Linked DNA regions of Homo sapiens: region 2 is linked to region 1. Evidence: promoter capture Hi-C in 16 types of primary human blood cells and fetal thymus (Javierre and others, 2016). All regions are on one chromosome and are shown on one strand. Each heading gives the region's core, a stretch centred on a gene start or on the middle of the fragment in contact. The rest is flanking DNA. Distances are from core to core; before and after follow the strand shown. Region 1 holds the start of PDLIM3 (PDZ and LIM domain 3). Region 2 holds the start of LOC124900830 (a long non-coding RNA gene).

What was found. Contacts are between HindIII fragments. The CHiCAGO score rates a contact against its expected background, and 5 or more counts as called.
Region 2: a contact is called between a fragment that was not itself captured here and the fragment with the promoter of PDLIM3 in region 1, in 1 of 17 cell types (megakaryocytes). The highest score is 5.0, in megakaryocytes.

The regions. Positions count from the first base shown.
Region 1 is chr4:185,531,347-185,537,144 of GRCh38, forward strand. It overlaps PDLIM3 (PDZ and LIM domain 3), which reads right to left and starts at 4,161. Exons shown (of 8, transcript NM_014476.6): 1 at 3,996-4,161. The coding sequence starts at 4,088. The HindIII fragment of the contact is 10,243 bases long and covers 3,250-5,798 here.
Region 2 is chr4:186,017,337-186,023,134 of GRCh38, forward strand. It overlaps LOC124900830 (a long non-coding RNA gene), which reads right to left and starts at 5,629. Exons shown (of 3, transcript XR_007058420.1): 1 at 5,592-5,629. LOC124900829 (a long non-coding RNA gene) reads left to right here. Exons shown (of 2, transcript XR_007058418.1): 1 at 1-51; 2 at 1,117-1,545. The HindIII fragment of the contact is 2,169 bases long and covers 2,289-4,457 here.

The DNA of each region.
Region 1 (5,798 bases), core at 2,911-5,410:
AAGGTCTATCACACTTATTGCCTAGAAACTGCTTTCCTAAAAATTGTGTTTATCACAACCAGTTGCTAAAAATTTGTTTTGAGAATGTCTGGTGTTTGATTTACCTTACTTTTGATTTTTTTATAATACAAAGATTCATCTGGCTATTTGGATTGTAAACAATTACGGGCATGAGGGCCCTGTGTCCTAATTTTGTGAACTGTAATTTCAATTGATGGAGGCAGTCATATTTGTCACTCTCCTACAAACTCTGGTTGGAGCCCCATTGTCTAGCAGTATTGCTGTCGTCTGTATTTGTATAGTGTGAGGCGGGGAGTGAAGGGTATAGCTTGTAGGAGGACAAAAGCTGATTTAATGGGGACTCGATTAAACACATCTCGTTTATGGGACTTTTTGTGGCTTTAAGTGTAGATATTGGTATTTCAATTCTTTGTATATTAAGAACTTATTTAAAACTGACACATCAGCCAGGCGTGGTGGCTCACGACTGTAATCACTTTGGGAAGCTGAGGTGGGCGGATCGCCTGAGGTCAGGAGTTTGAGAGTAGCCTGGCCAACATGGTGAAACCCTATCTCTACTAAAAAAAAAAAAAAAAAAAAAATTAGCTGGGTATGGTGGCGGGTGCTTGTAGTCCCAGCTACTTGGAAGGCTGAGGCAGGAGAATCGCTTGAACCCAGGAGGCAGAGGTTGCAGTGAGGCGAGATCGCGCCACTGCACTCCAGCCTGGGAGACAGAGCGAGACTCTGTCTCAACAAAACAAAACAAAAACATGACAAATCAACTCACAATAAAACAATTCTCACTTATCTTTTTGTGAAATATTTTTGAGAACACATTCTATACCTATTTATAATAAAGTCATGTAAAAAGGGAACAATCTAGTCAATCATTCATACCGTGTCTATATTTATTCTACAACACATATGCTCTACTAGGCACTGTGCTAGGCCCTGAATGGCCCCCAGATTAGAAGGTTTCTGCCTTCGGGGAATGTGCAATCTGGTGGGATACAGATGCAGTGGAACATCTGGTACAGGCATGACATAAGGAGGGGTTATACAGGCCGAAAGCTACAGTAATCAACCGGATGAGATGGTTGTTACTGAAAGAAGGCTTGGGGAGAGGCATTTGAGTGGTTTCCACAGGCACAGAGGACAGTGGTGTGGTGTGGGGAAAAATGGTATCAGGAGCAAAGACACGTCAGGGAAATCGTAAGTAGTCCAGAGGGCGGTACCACTGCCTACGTGTGGAACAAGGGGAGGAAAGGGAGAGACAACAAAGGGAGAGGAAAGAAATGAAGTTAGCAACTCAAATTGGGATAGGAGATGGTGAAAAGTCATGAATGTTGTGCAAAGACACGCATTTCACTCTCTACAAACAAGTGATGCCGCTGAAGGATTTTTAAGAATGAGAAAGGAGCAATTTGGCATTTTCCAGAGACGGTAAGAATATGCTGTGTGAATTGGACGGGGGAGCCAAATGTCTAGGCGTGGAGCTAGGAAATCTTGAAGAGGGACAGTAGTAGAAAAAATGGAAAGTGGCAGATGTTGAAGACAGCATCAATAAGGCCAGTGATGAACAGGATGGCACAAAACAACTCTTTAGAAATATTGGAACAGGTGTCCATTTTCACATGTGGCCTTCAGAATGCAGGCTTTGGAGGCACACAGACCTAGCGTCAGAGCCTGTCCCACTGCTTGTGATCATCGGCGGGTTAATAAATCTTTTGAAGCCTCATTCTCCTCATTTGCAAAAGGGGATGTCACTACTGCTACTCTCCTAAAGATTATTGTGAGATTTCAGTGAGTTCGTGCACATAAAAGGTTCCCATCAATGCCTGGCAAGCAAGAGAGTACAATAACACACTTACAACCTCACACACTGCCTTTCAAAATGGTGTTAAAATGTTAAAAGCAGTACAACAATTCACCATTTAACAATACTGATAGTTATTTTTCTGTAATACTTTTCTGTAATACTTTTTATTCTTTTCCTTAACAAATTTCAATATTCTTATCATTTCAGTGAAAATATTCTGAATTAGGTGTTCACTAAAGCATAAAAGTTCTTATTGAATAAATAAATGTTCTTATTTATTCAATAAGAATCTACTATATACCTGGCTTTGGGGACACTTGGGATACAAAAATGATTTGGTTTTACCTGCTGTCCTAGAATTAATTAAAGAGAAAAGCCATAATCAAGTGAAATCATATTTGGTCATAAACTGTTATTGAACCAAATGTCAAAAATGAGTGATACAAATTAGTTATGAGTTAGGAATTCCAGATAGAATTGGTTTCCCTAATAATAACTGCCATTATATCAAATATATTTACCAATAGCTATTGTAGTCCAACTCTGGAATGTAAGTACTGCTTTAAAATAAACATTTATAATGTCAACAACTCAAAATTTCAAGCATATGATTAATTATATTGACATACGATTATACTATAATAGCAAAATATTTCTTTTATAAACACCTTAAAAGTTTTCGTGACAAAATTATTTTGGTTAGAATTTAATATAAATATGATTTATTCTGTGTTAGGATTCAAAAGCTTATTCAATTTAAATAAAAACCATACTCCAGAAACTAAAACATTTCTTAGTAGATATAACGGAAACTGTTTTTGTTGGTAAATCTATAATAGGAATTGCTTGGCCCAGGTCACTGAAGCATTTTCTGCTTACTTTACTTAGGAACGTTTTTGGGGGTATGTTGAACAGTTTTCATGTTTCATATAAAAACACGTCAGATGTGTTTATATGTTTTTGAAAAATGTAAAACAAGGCTTGAAACGTTCCATTGTATGCGTCTGTAGGATACACATTTTGACATATTTTTAAAAGGATGTTGGTTCCCAAATCTCATAGGCATATATAAATAAAACAGAATTTAAAAGGTATTACCTTGTTCAAAATCTGTATGAGCAGATCAATCAGATTATAACACATACAATTATAAAATATGGCATGAGAAGAATACAAGAAAATAAAGTATAATACTCTGCAACTAAAAGTATAATATTCTGGAAGTTTACGCCTTTAGGTATTAAATGTTTTATATGTGATAACTGAAATAATACATTAATTTTCTATGAAGAAAAACATTGTGTTAGAAAAAAACCAGCTAGACCAAATAATGCTTTAGAATTAATTCTACAAATTTACTGACAGGAGAGAAACCCTGAGGTTTTATTTTTACCTTGTTTTCTCATTAGACAGTAGAGAACACCAAGTAAAGCTTGACTTTGACATTAAAGCATTATTTTCCGTTTTAGGCTGAGTGGTTTACTTTGCATCAGGTAAACTAAACTGTCTGCCACGTTTTCTTTGTAGCTAGAGTTAGAAGTTGGTAATTCCTAAGCCAAGTTCTCAGCTTTGGAAAACGTGCTCAAAATGCCTGGAAACTGAGGAGTGAGCATTAGGAAGACTTCCCCTGTCTGGGCTGATAGGAGCGGCTCCAGTTTGGCCAACGCAGGTCGTGCCCCGCGAACAGCGCGCTGCTGAACTTTTCATCCGGACGAGAAAAACGCTCAGATGCGCGCCAGCTCCAGGGAATGCCGGGGGGTGCCAGTCCCTCGCCTCTCCCACCCGGGACCCATCATTTGTTACGGAAGGGCGATGGGGTGTGTTTTATTTCTGTTATCACATATAAAACATTTAAAACCTAAAGGGGAGGAGGCACTCGAGCCTGGCAGCCTCGCCTTCCCTGAGCCCAGTGGCTCTCCTCGGAAAGTCGCTGCGGACCCAGAGGATGGGACACCTTTAGAGCGGACTTTGTCAAATCTCTGAGCCGCTCCGCAGCCACTTGACGGAGTTGCCGCCGCCCCCGGAGCTGGGCGCCGAAGCCCGGGAGCCAGCAGCGCCCCGTCCGCCCGCCCTCGCGCGCTTTCTGGCCGCCCTCGGCCCCGGGGCATCCACTGCGTCCCCCCGGACGCCGCCGGAGTCCCCACCTCGCAGCAAAAGCAAGAATGCCGACACCTACCCTGGTGATGACCAAAGGCTGGTTGAAGTCTATGCCCCCTGAGAGCCTGAAGCCCCAGGGCGCAGGGCCCGGGAGGATCACCGTCTGGGGCATGCCGCCTTCCTCCCGCCCACCGGGCTCTAAGTGTCCCCGCGCAGGGCAGCCACTCCGCGCCGGGCGGCGTCCTGGCCCCGACCCGGGCGGGGGCGCTTTATCCCCGCTGGGGGTGACGTCACCGCCCCGCCGTCCTCCCCGCCCCCTCCCACCCCGGAGAGCTCCAACTTTGGAAGCGAGAGCCGCGCCAGCCCCGCGGGAGTGCGCAGCCCGGCCGGCTGGGGCAGCCTCCCGGGCCGCGGCGGGCGCGGGGGCTTCGGGTTACAGCGTCCGTCGCTCTCTTGAAGTCACACCTGTCTCCCTGTTTATCTTCTGCTTGGAGCGCAGCAGTGCACTTTGTTGGAAGCGAAAGCAGCCAGACCACAGCCTCCATGCTTTCAATTAAAACGAGCATCATCGATACAATAAGTTATTTAGCAGTTTCGAGTGCGTTAATATTTACTTACGACCTCTGCGGCTTTGGCCAAATTACTTAATGTCCTTTTAAATTTTTATTTTATTTATTTATTTTTCTTAGAGACCGGGTCTCCACTTTGTTGCCCAGGCTAGTCTTGAACTCCTGGGCTCAAACAATCTTCCCACCTCAGCCTCCCAAAGTGCAGGAGAGTCTGGCCGGGGTCCTGTGGTAGTCTCAGTGTGGACTCAAGTATTTCTGGTGTTACGCGTTGGGATGTTGTGATTCCCAAAGGGAGAGGGGAGAATGAGGGAAGAGAAATAAGAAATGCTTTAAACACTCAAGAATAAGGGTCTTGGACTTAATGCCCCATATGATAGGGTCGTATTGGTCCAGGAGGACAGAGCTGCAGCAGACTTTTAAGAGGGCAGTCTGTTTGGAAGCAGTTTTAAGACTGATGGAGGAAAGAGAAAGGAGATGCAGAAAGCAGTAAGCAGTAAGCAGTAAGCAAAGCGAACCAGCCTGGGCAAATGTAAATCACAAAGGTAGGATGGGCATTACTTTGTCCGCTGTGGTGGATTACATAAAAGTCCCAGGGGATAAGCACTTTCTAGCTCCACACATTTCCCAGTGCCCCATCTATGCTGGACCATCGAGGAGCTGAACATTGTGTGTCCTGCTGACTGCCTGTTTGGGCTGTGGCTGTATCACTGCAGAGCACATTTCTTCAGTCAGCTGCTGGCTCTGTCTGCGTGGTGCAGACATACACGTGCACACACACAGAGGTCCATTCAGAAAAAAAAAATCAGACAAGTCATTTGGTGTTGTGTAATTATAGTAATTGTTTTTACCTTACTTCACGAGCTGGCTTATATAAACAGCTGATTTTTTCTTTGCCTTTTTGCTGGTCATTTTGGCATCATTTAGATGTAGCCAATATCTATACAATATCCACATAATATCTGATGAGTTCTTTCTTTTTGTTTTTTTTTTTTTTTTTTGGAGACAGAGTCTTAATCTGTCACCCAGGCTTGATGAGTTCCTAAGGCTTTGCAGAGAGTGTGGAAAGCAGGGACATGAGATGGGCAGTTTTCCTACATCCTGCTCTTCACGGAGACCAGCAGGAAAGTGCTCAGAAGTGACTGTTAAGGTAGAGGTGAGACTAGCTGGGAGGGAGAATTCTAAGGAAGAAGCACTGGCTGCATCCTAAATGGTCCTAGAAAATCCTGCTTTGGGTTTGGGTACTGTTCTAAGAAGAGGTTCTTTTTGCATGACTTTGATTTTTTTTTAAGTTTACTTATTTATTTATTGAGATG
Region 2 (5,798 bases), core at 2,123-4,622, 490 kb after region 1:
TCGTGTGGTCTTCATCTTTTGAAGCCTCATTTTCTCATCTGTAGAACTTGCGTGAGTATTAAGAAGATGTCTGAGGATGCCAGGTGCTAGAGCTGCAGAGAGAACCTGCAGAGAGAAGGGGTGTTGGTTGTGTTGGTTATTAGGGTGTCTCAGGCCATCGTTCAGCACCCTGACCTCTTCCTTCAAGCTGAGCCCTGGGGAAGGGAGCAGAGGGGCATGAATAGGTCAGTTTTGGGGCCCGCCCTATGACCTCCACATCTCTCTTCTTCTTTCCTCTTCTCCAAATTTTAGAATGTGCATCCTTTCCAATCTTTTTTGTTGTTAATGTAGTTGTTTGTTCATATGCCAGTACCGCAGCTACAGAGGCCCTGAAATGCCAAGAATTAACTTCTTTTCTTCCCTATACTGTTTTAAAGCACAGGTTTTGTTATAATTTTGATAGGGCAAGACCAGTAGATAGGAGATGACTACCATTGAAAAAAAAGTCTGATGCTCACAGATGCCAAGAGGAGTGAGCGCCTACAGTGTGTGGCCACACGGGTAGCACCCGGGTCAGGCAGGAGGCAGAGTGAGCAGGGGGAGAATGCTGGGGAGAGGATTCCATGGGAAGGAGCAGGCAAGGCAGGGTGAGCAGGCTCAGGGTGGAGAGCTTGAATAATTTCAGCAGACTCTGGGCATAGGGCCTGTCCCTAACTGTCTGGTACCTGGTTTGGGGTGATCAGGGCAGGGGGAATCATGTTGAATTTGAGATCCCCAGTAGAGGACGTGGTTAGGGGCATGGGCTTTGGATTGGTTCATGTGCATTTGAAAGGCTCTCTCTGGAGGCGGGGGTCCTTCACTGTCTCTAGGAATCGGCTAACTAGAGACAGTAGTAAGCTAACTGACTGCCAGTCCCCCCAGGCTCAGCCAGACTCCAATGTCAAACCATAAATATACATAAAATAAAAAGACATGGTTAGACACATGCATTCTGCAGTGTCAAATAACACTTGGGCAATGGAAAATTCATATCTAGTCTCCCAGGTGGGAAAAAAAAAAAAAAAGGAAATATCAAGAACGGTTACTATTGCAAAGTGTTATCCCACTAAACACCCTCTATCTCTCTGTGTTTTGTAGCATGAAGCTTTGTTACCATGACGTCACATGCTATCCATGGGGTTTTGTTGCTGTTACAGAGGTCCCCGTGATATGCTGTCCTGCATTTCTAGACATGTCTTTGGTTTGGAAGCCTGACACCACCAAAAGAGAACTGCAGTGCAAATGGTTTTGAAATCCTCCACTAATCATCCTAGAAGCTCAGCTAGTTCCAGGGCCTTCCATAATTCCAATTCCAAAGGACTTCATATCAAAACATTCTTTGCTTGTTTTGCTACCCCCCAAGATTGCATTTATCCCTTCTCTGGAGATTTTAACAGTTGGTGAGCTACCCTAGGCTCTGGTGGCACCTTCTATAAGTGACCCTTGACCTTCCACTTTCCTGAACTGATGAAAACATAGCTGTGTTAGCTCAAATAAATATTTCCTAACTGCCTGCTTTGGGGAAAATGCTGTGTGAAATGCTTGATGGATTTATTTATTCAACACCTGTTTATGAAGTGTTGATTATGTGCTAGACACTTTTGCAGACATTGAGGATACAGTAGTGGACTAAATAGACAAAGCTCCCTCATGGAGCTTATTTTGTAGTGGGGTAGGCGGGTGCTGGCAATAAACAAGGTGAAAATATATGGCATGTCAGGTGGTGATAAAAGCCAGGGGGTAAAATGATGCCACGATGGGGGAGAGGAGGCCTGCCACTTTAAATAAGACAGTAAGAAAAGGTCTTTGTGAAGGTGACATTTTAGCAAAGATTTGAAGGATGTCTCTGAGAGAGGATTGTTGGAGATGGACACAAGAGGGATTGAGCAAGAAACACAAGCAGTGGCAGCTGAAACCTGGGTTTCTCAAAATGGAGTTTATGGAGAGTGTGTGTAACAACAATAAGATAAAAAAAGGAGAGATATAAGATCAGTGCCTTCACCTCAAGAACTTCATGGTCTCATTAGAGAGGTTTCCTAACAACAAACCATTAGAAATGAGACAGAGCAGGGATCCCTCTTAGGGGCCTGCAAGTCCCTCAAGCATGAAAGAAAAATCTTGAATTTCTTCAAGGGGAATTCCAGGCACCCAGCTATCCCTGAAGAGTAAATGAGCAACTTGACCAGCAAGAAGGTAATAGTAGCTTAAAACAATAACCAAGGGAGTTGAAGTCATGGGGTGTTTGGTAAAGTCATGGGGTATTTAGATAAAGCTTCACCTCCTTACCCAATTGCAAACCCCAACATCTTTGAATCCACCTGTGACCTGTGGAACCCTGCTTCATGACACCCTACTTTTTTAGGCCAAACCAATATAGAGCCTCAATATATTAATTGACTTCTTTGCCTGCAATCTCTGCTTCTCCAGATTTAAAATCTCCTACCTGTAAGCCACCGAGAGGTCAGGTCTCAATTGTAAGCTGCCCAATTCTCTTTCCTTGGCATCCTGCAAATAAACACCTTGCTTTCCCCTGCTGCAAACCACGGTGTGGATGTTTGGCCTCACCCCACAGGAGAGCAGACACCAGTTCAGTTCAGTAACAGAAATAGGTCATTAAAGATGGATTCTGTCTACAGTTCACCCAAGCAAGTGAAGTCTGTGTTAAAATACTCAATAGTATCTCTCTTAGCTCTTGCCAGAATGAACATGAAGTCAATGACAGGTTGGTAACTCATAAAATTAAGGCAGATTTCCACACTCATCGTCACCACTCTCACCTAACACTTGGTCAGCATCTACTGTAAACAGTTTACTCTACTGAGTGTAGGAAGAGGCACAGTCGTGAGTGTGAGCTTCCTGAGTGGGGACGTCCTGCGCTGTCACTTTTAAGGAAGGCTTCACGTAGGCCATGCTGGAACCCAGAGTGCCTGAGACAACCGCTAGGGAGGAGACTTCCTGAGGCCTGTGGCTGAAGGAGAATGAGCCAGGGCTTCTCACAGGCAGACATGGGTGTAAAGGGAAACGAGGGAAGGAGTTTGGCCTTCATGTGCTGGTCCTTACCCTGGGTCGATGGCGGTGGATGCAGGGCTAGGTGTGAAAGAGACAATCCTACTTTACTGAAGGTCTTGGGAGCTCAGCAGCGTGGACTTGCCGGGATTCAGCTCCCTGGGCCCTGCCCTCTTCTGCAATATGGACAGCAACCGGGTAAGGAGGCGTTGAGAGAAGAGACTCGTAGAAGGGCAGGTGTGCAGAACCGAACATGGAGGGCATCGGTGAGACGTCCCAAGGCTTCCAGGAATAGCTGCAAAGAGCACAGGGCTGCCTGGAGAGCCTGTGTCTGCAGCAGAAACCAGCACCTGCAGGACAGGCCATGGCTGTGAGGGGGATGTTGGAGGTGCTCAGCTTACTGAGCTCTGGAGCCAGCATCATATGTGAATATGTGTTAGCACGTCGTCCAGCACTGTGTGATTCGTAGTAAATCTTTACAGAATTGAAATCTATCTGGTGTCTCTAGAAATTGACTTGAAGCACAAGGTAGCAGAAAGTACTTGTCAGAAGAAGACAGATGCTCAGTTCGGAGGAGGGAGAAACAGGGAACCCAGAGGAGGGCGAAGGCGTCACCTGTGAGGCCAGGCGTGTGGCCGTGAGCAGCCCCGTTGTGTTGCAGAGGTTTCACAGATCAGTAGTTACTGTCTTCATCTGGACTATAGAGAGCACATATCACATAGGCCACAAAGCCTGTCATTCTCCACAGTAGAAAACTTTTACAGGCTGTTTTTATCTCTAGAAACACTGGATTGTTTGGCAGTAACAAGAAACATCTTTCCACCCACACACGCCCACGGAAGCATGTTGAACATCAGTGAAGTACGTTACACTGGGGATCGCACCGCGTATCTTCTTATATAGCAGTTTTTATATAGTAGTTCATTAGGGGAGCAGAGATTTTTTTTCTCTCTCTCCCCTCCCTTTGTAATTTTCAGAATAGCAAATAGCATGATCAAAGCCATCATCTCCTGTTTTCCTTTCTCTAGAGTTTAAATAAATCAGGCTGAAAAATCTCTGAGCCTATGATAACAATCACTCATTGATAGCTTATCACTTAGGAAGAGGTTTCAAGGGCTAAAAGACGTAATGAAACCCCAACGCAGAACATGTAAATGAACAGACTGTCTCTTTCCCCTCATACATCCCACGCTACTCAGTACAGAGGCCAAAGCTCTGTGAATGCACAGGGCTGGGGAACGAGATGCCATCTGGAACTGGAGATGCAAAGCCACATCCCATCCCTGATCCGTATGGCCCAGGCCCAGCCTGGGAAGGTGTGGGGTATACTGACTGCGGGGGTCCCATCACTTCTCCTAGAACGGGTTCTCCGCGCGCTGTGCAGAGAACAATACTGTCCTCTAGCGCTCAGAGATCAGAACTGGAAATCAAGAAGCTTGTTTTTATTTCTCCTCCCATATTGTCAGTGATTCCCAGAGCAATATACCACTCCCAAAGCAAAGGGAATGGATTGACACAGTTCACAAAATCCAGGGCAGAATCATCCTGGCTTTGCCTCCCTTGTCTGGGTAATGACAGCTGCAGGGTTTTATCTGGTCTTTGGGGCAGTGCAGCATGTATTTAATCTATCCTTAGTTCAGCTTTGCCAAGGGAGAATCAAGATTTTTCTATCTTGATTAAATATGCATGTAATTTGTCATCAGCTAAATGAGCAAACAATATCTCCTTGTCCACCTCATAGACTTATGATGAGAATCAAATAAAAGCATAAAACAATGTAAAAGTATAAAACTGAATAAATGAGTTATTATTGAGGAAAATGCACATTTATCTGTTATTTAAAACACTTCTTTAATTCACTTCTATGTTTCAGGATTTTTACCTAGATATATAACATCACCATTTATATACATGCAATGAAAACATAATTTATATTCTATGTAATTACGTCCTTTCTAGCCCTACCGATAAGTCTTACCACGAAGAAAATGCTTTATTTTTTTGTGACTTTAAACTCTGGACAATATGTGTCTTCAACCTCTTATAATTCACCCACAGGGATTCTCTTCAAGGATGGTATAACCCACATTTCCAGAGCAGCCACACAGGACAGCCGCCTCTGCACAACCATTACCATAAGCATGCGTGTGTTTGGTACAGACAGAAATGGATGATGGGGAGTGTGGGCCCTACGTTGGAGAAGGTTATATTTGCTACCAGATACCACCACCAATTTGCTTAAAATTGCTTTCAAGCTATTAAAATACTGAGAAGGGGATGATCATAAATACTTAGATGGCTGAATTTTTTGCTCTGTTAGGATAAAAATTGGATGGTAATACTTGGCTTCAAATTATACAACAGAGTAGTGACTTTTCTCACCCTTGCAAGAAAAATATTCTCAATGAAATATCAGATTCAGAAACAAAACAAGAGAAAATGCCTTTTCATATGCTTCAGTAGGGAAATGGGATGCAAAGGAACACTTCTAATAAGGAAACATTTGCTTAAAGTGATTTTTAAGGAAAGTTCTTTTATAATGACCTTTAAAATAGTTAAGATCATACCTGGTGGCCAGGCGCGATGGCTCATGTCTGTAATCCCAGCACTTTGGGAGGCCGAGGCACCAGATCAGTTGAGGTCAAGAGTTTGAGACCAACCTGGCTAACATGATGAAACCCCGTCTCTACTAAAAATACAGCAAAAAAAAAAGTTAGTGGAGCATGATGGTGGGAGCCTGTAATCCCAGCTACTCAGGAGGCTGAGGCATGAGA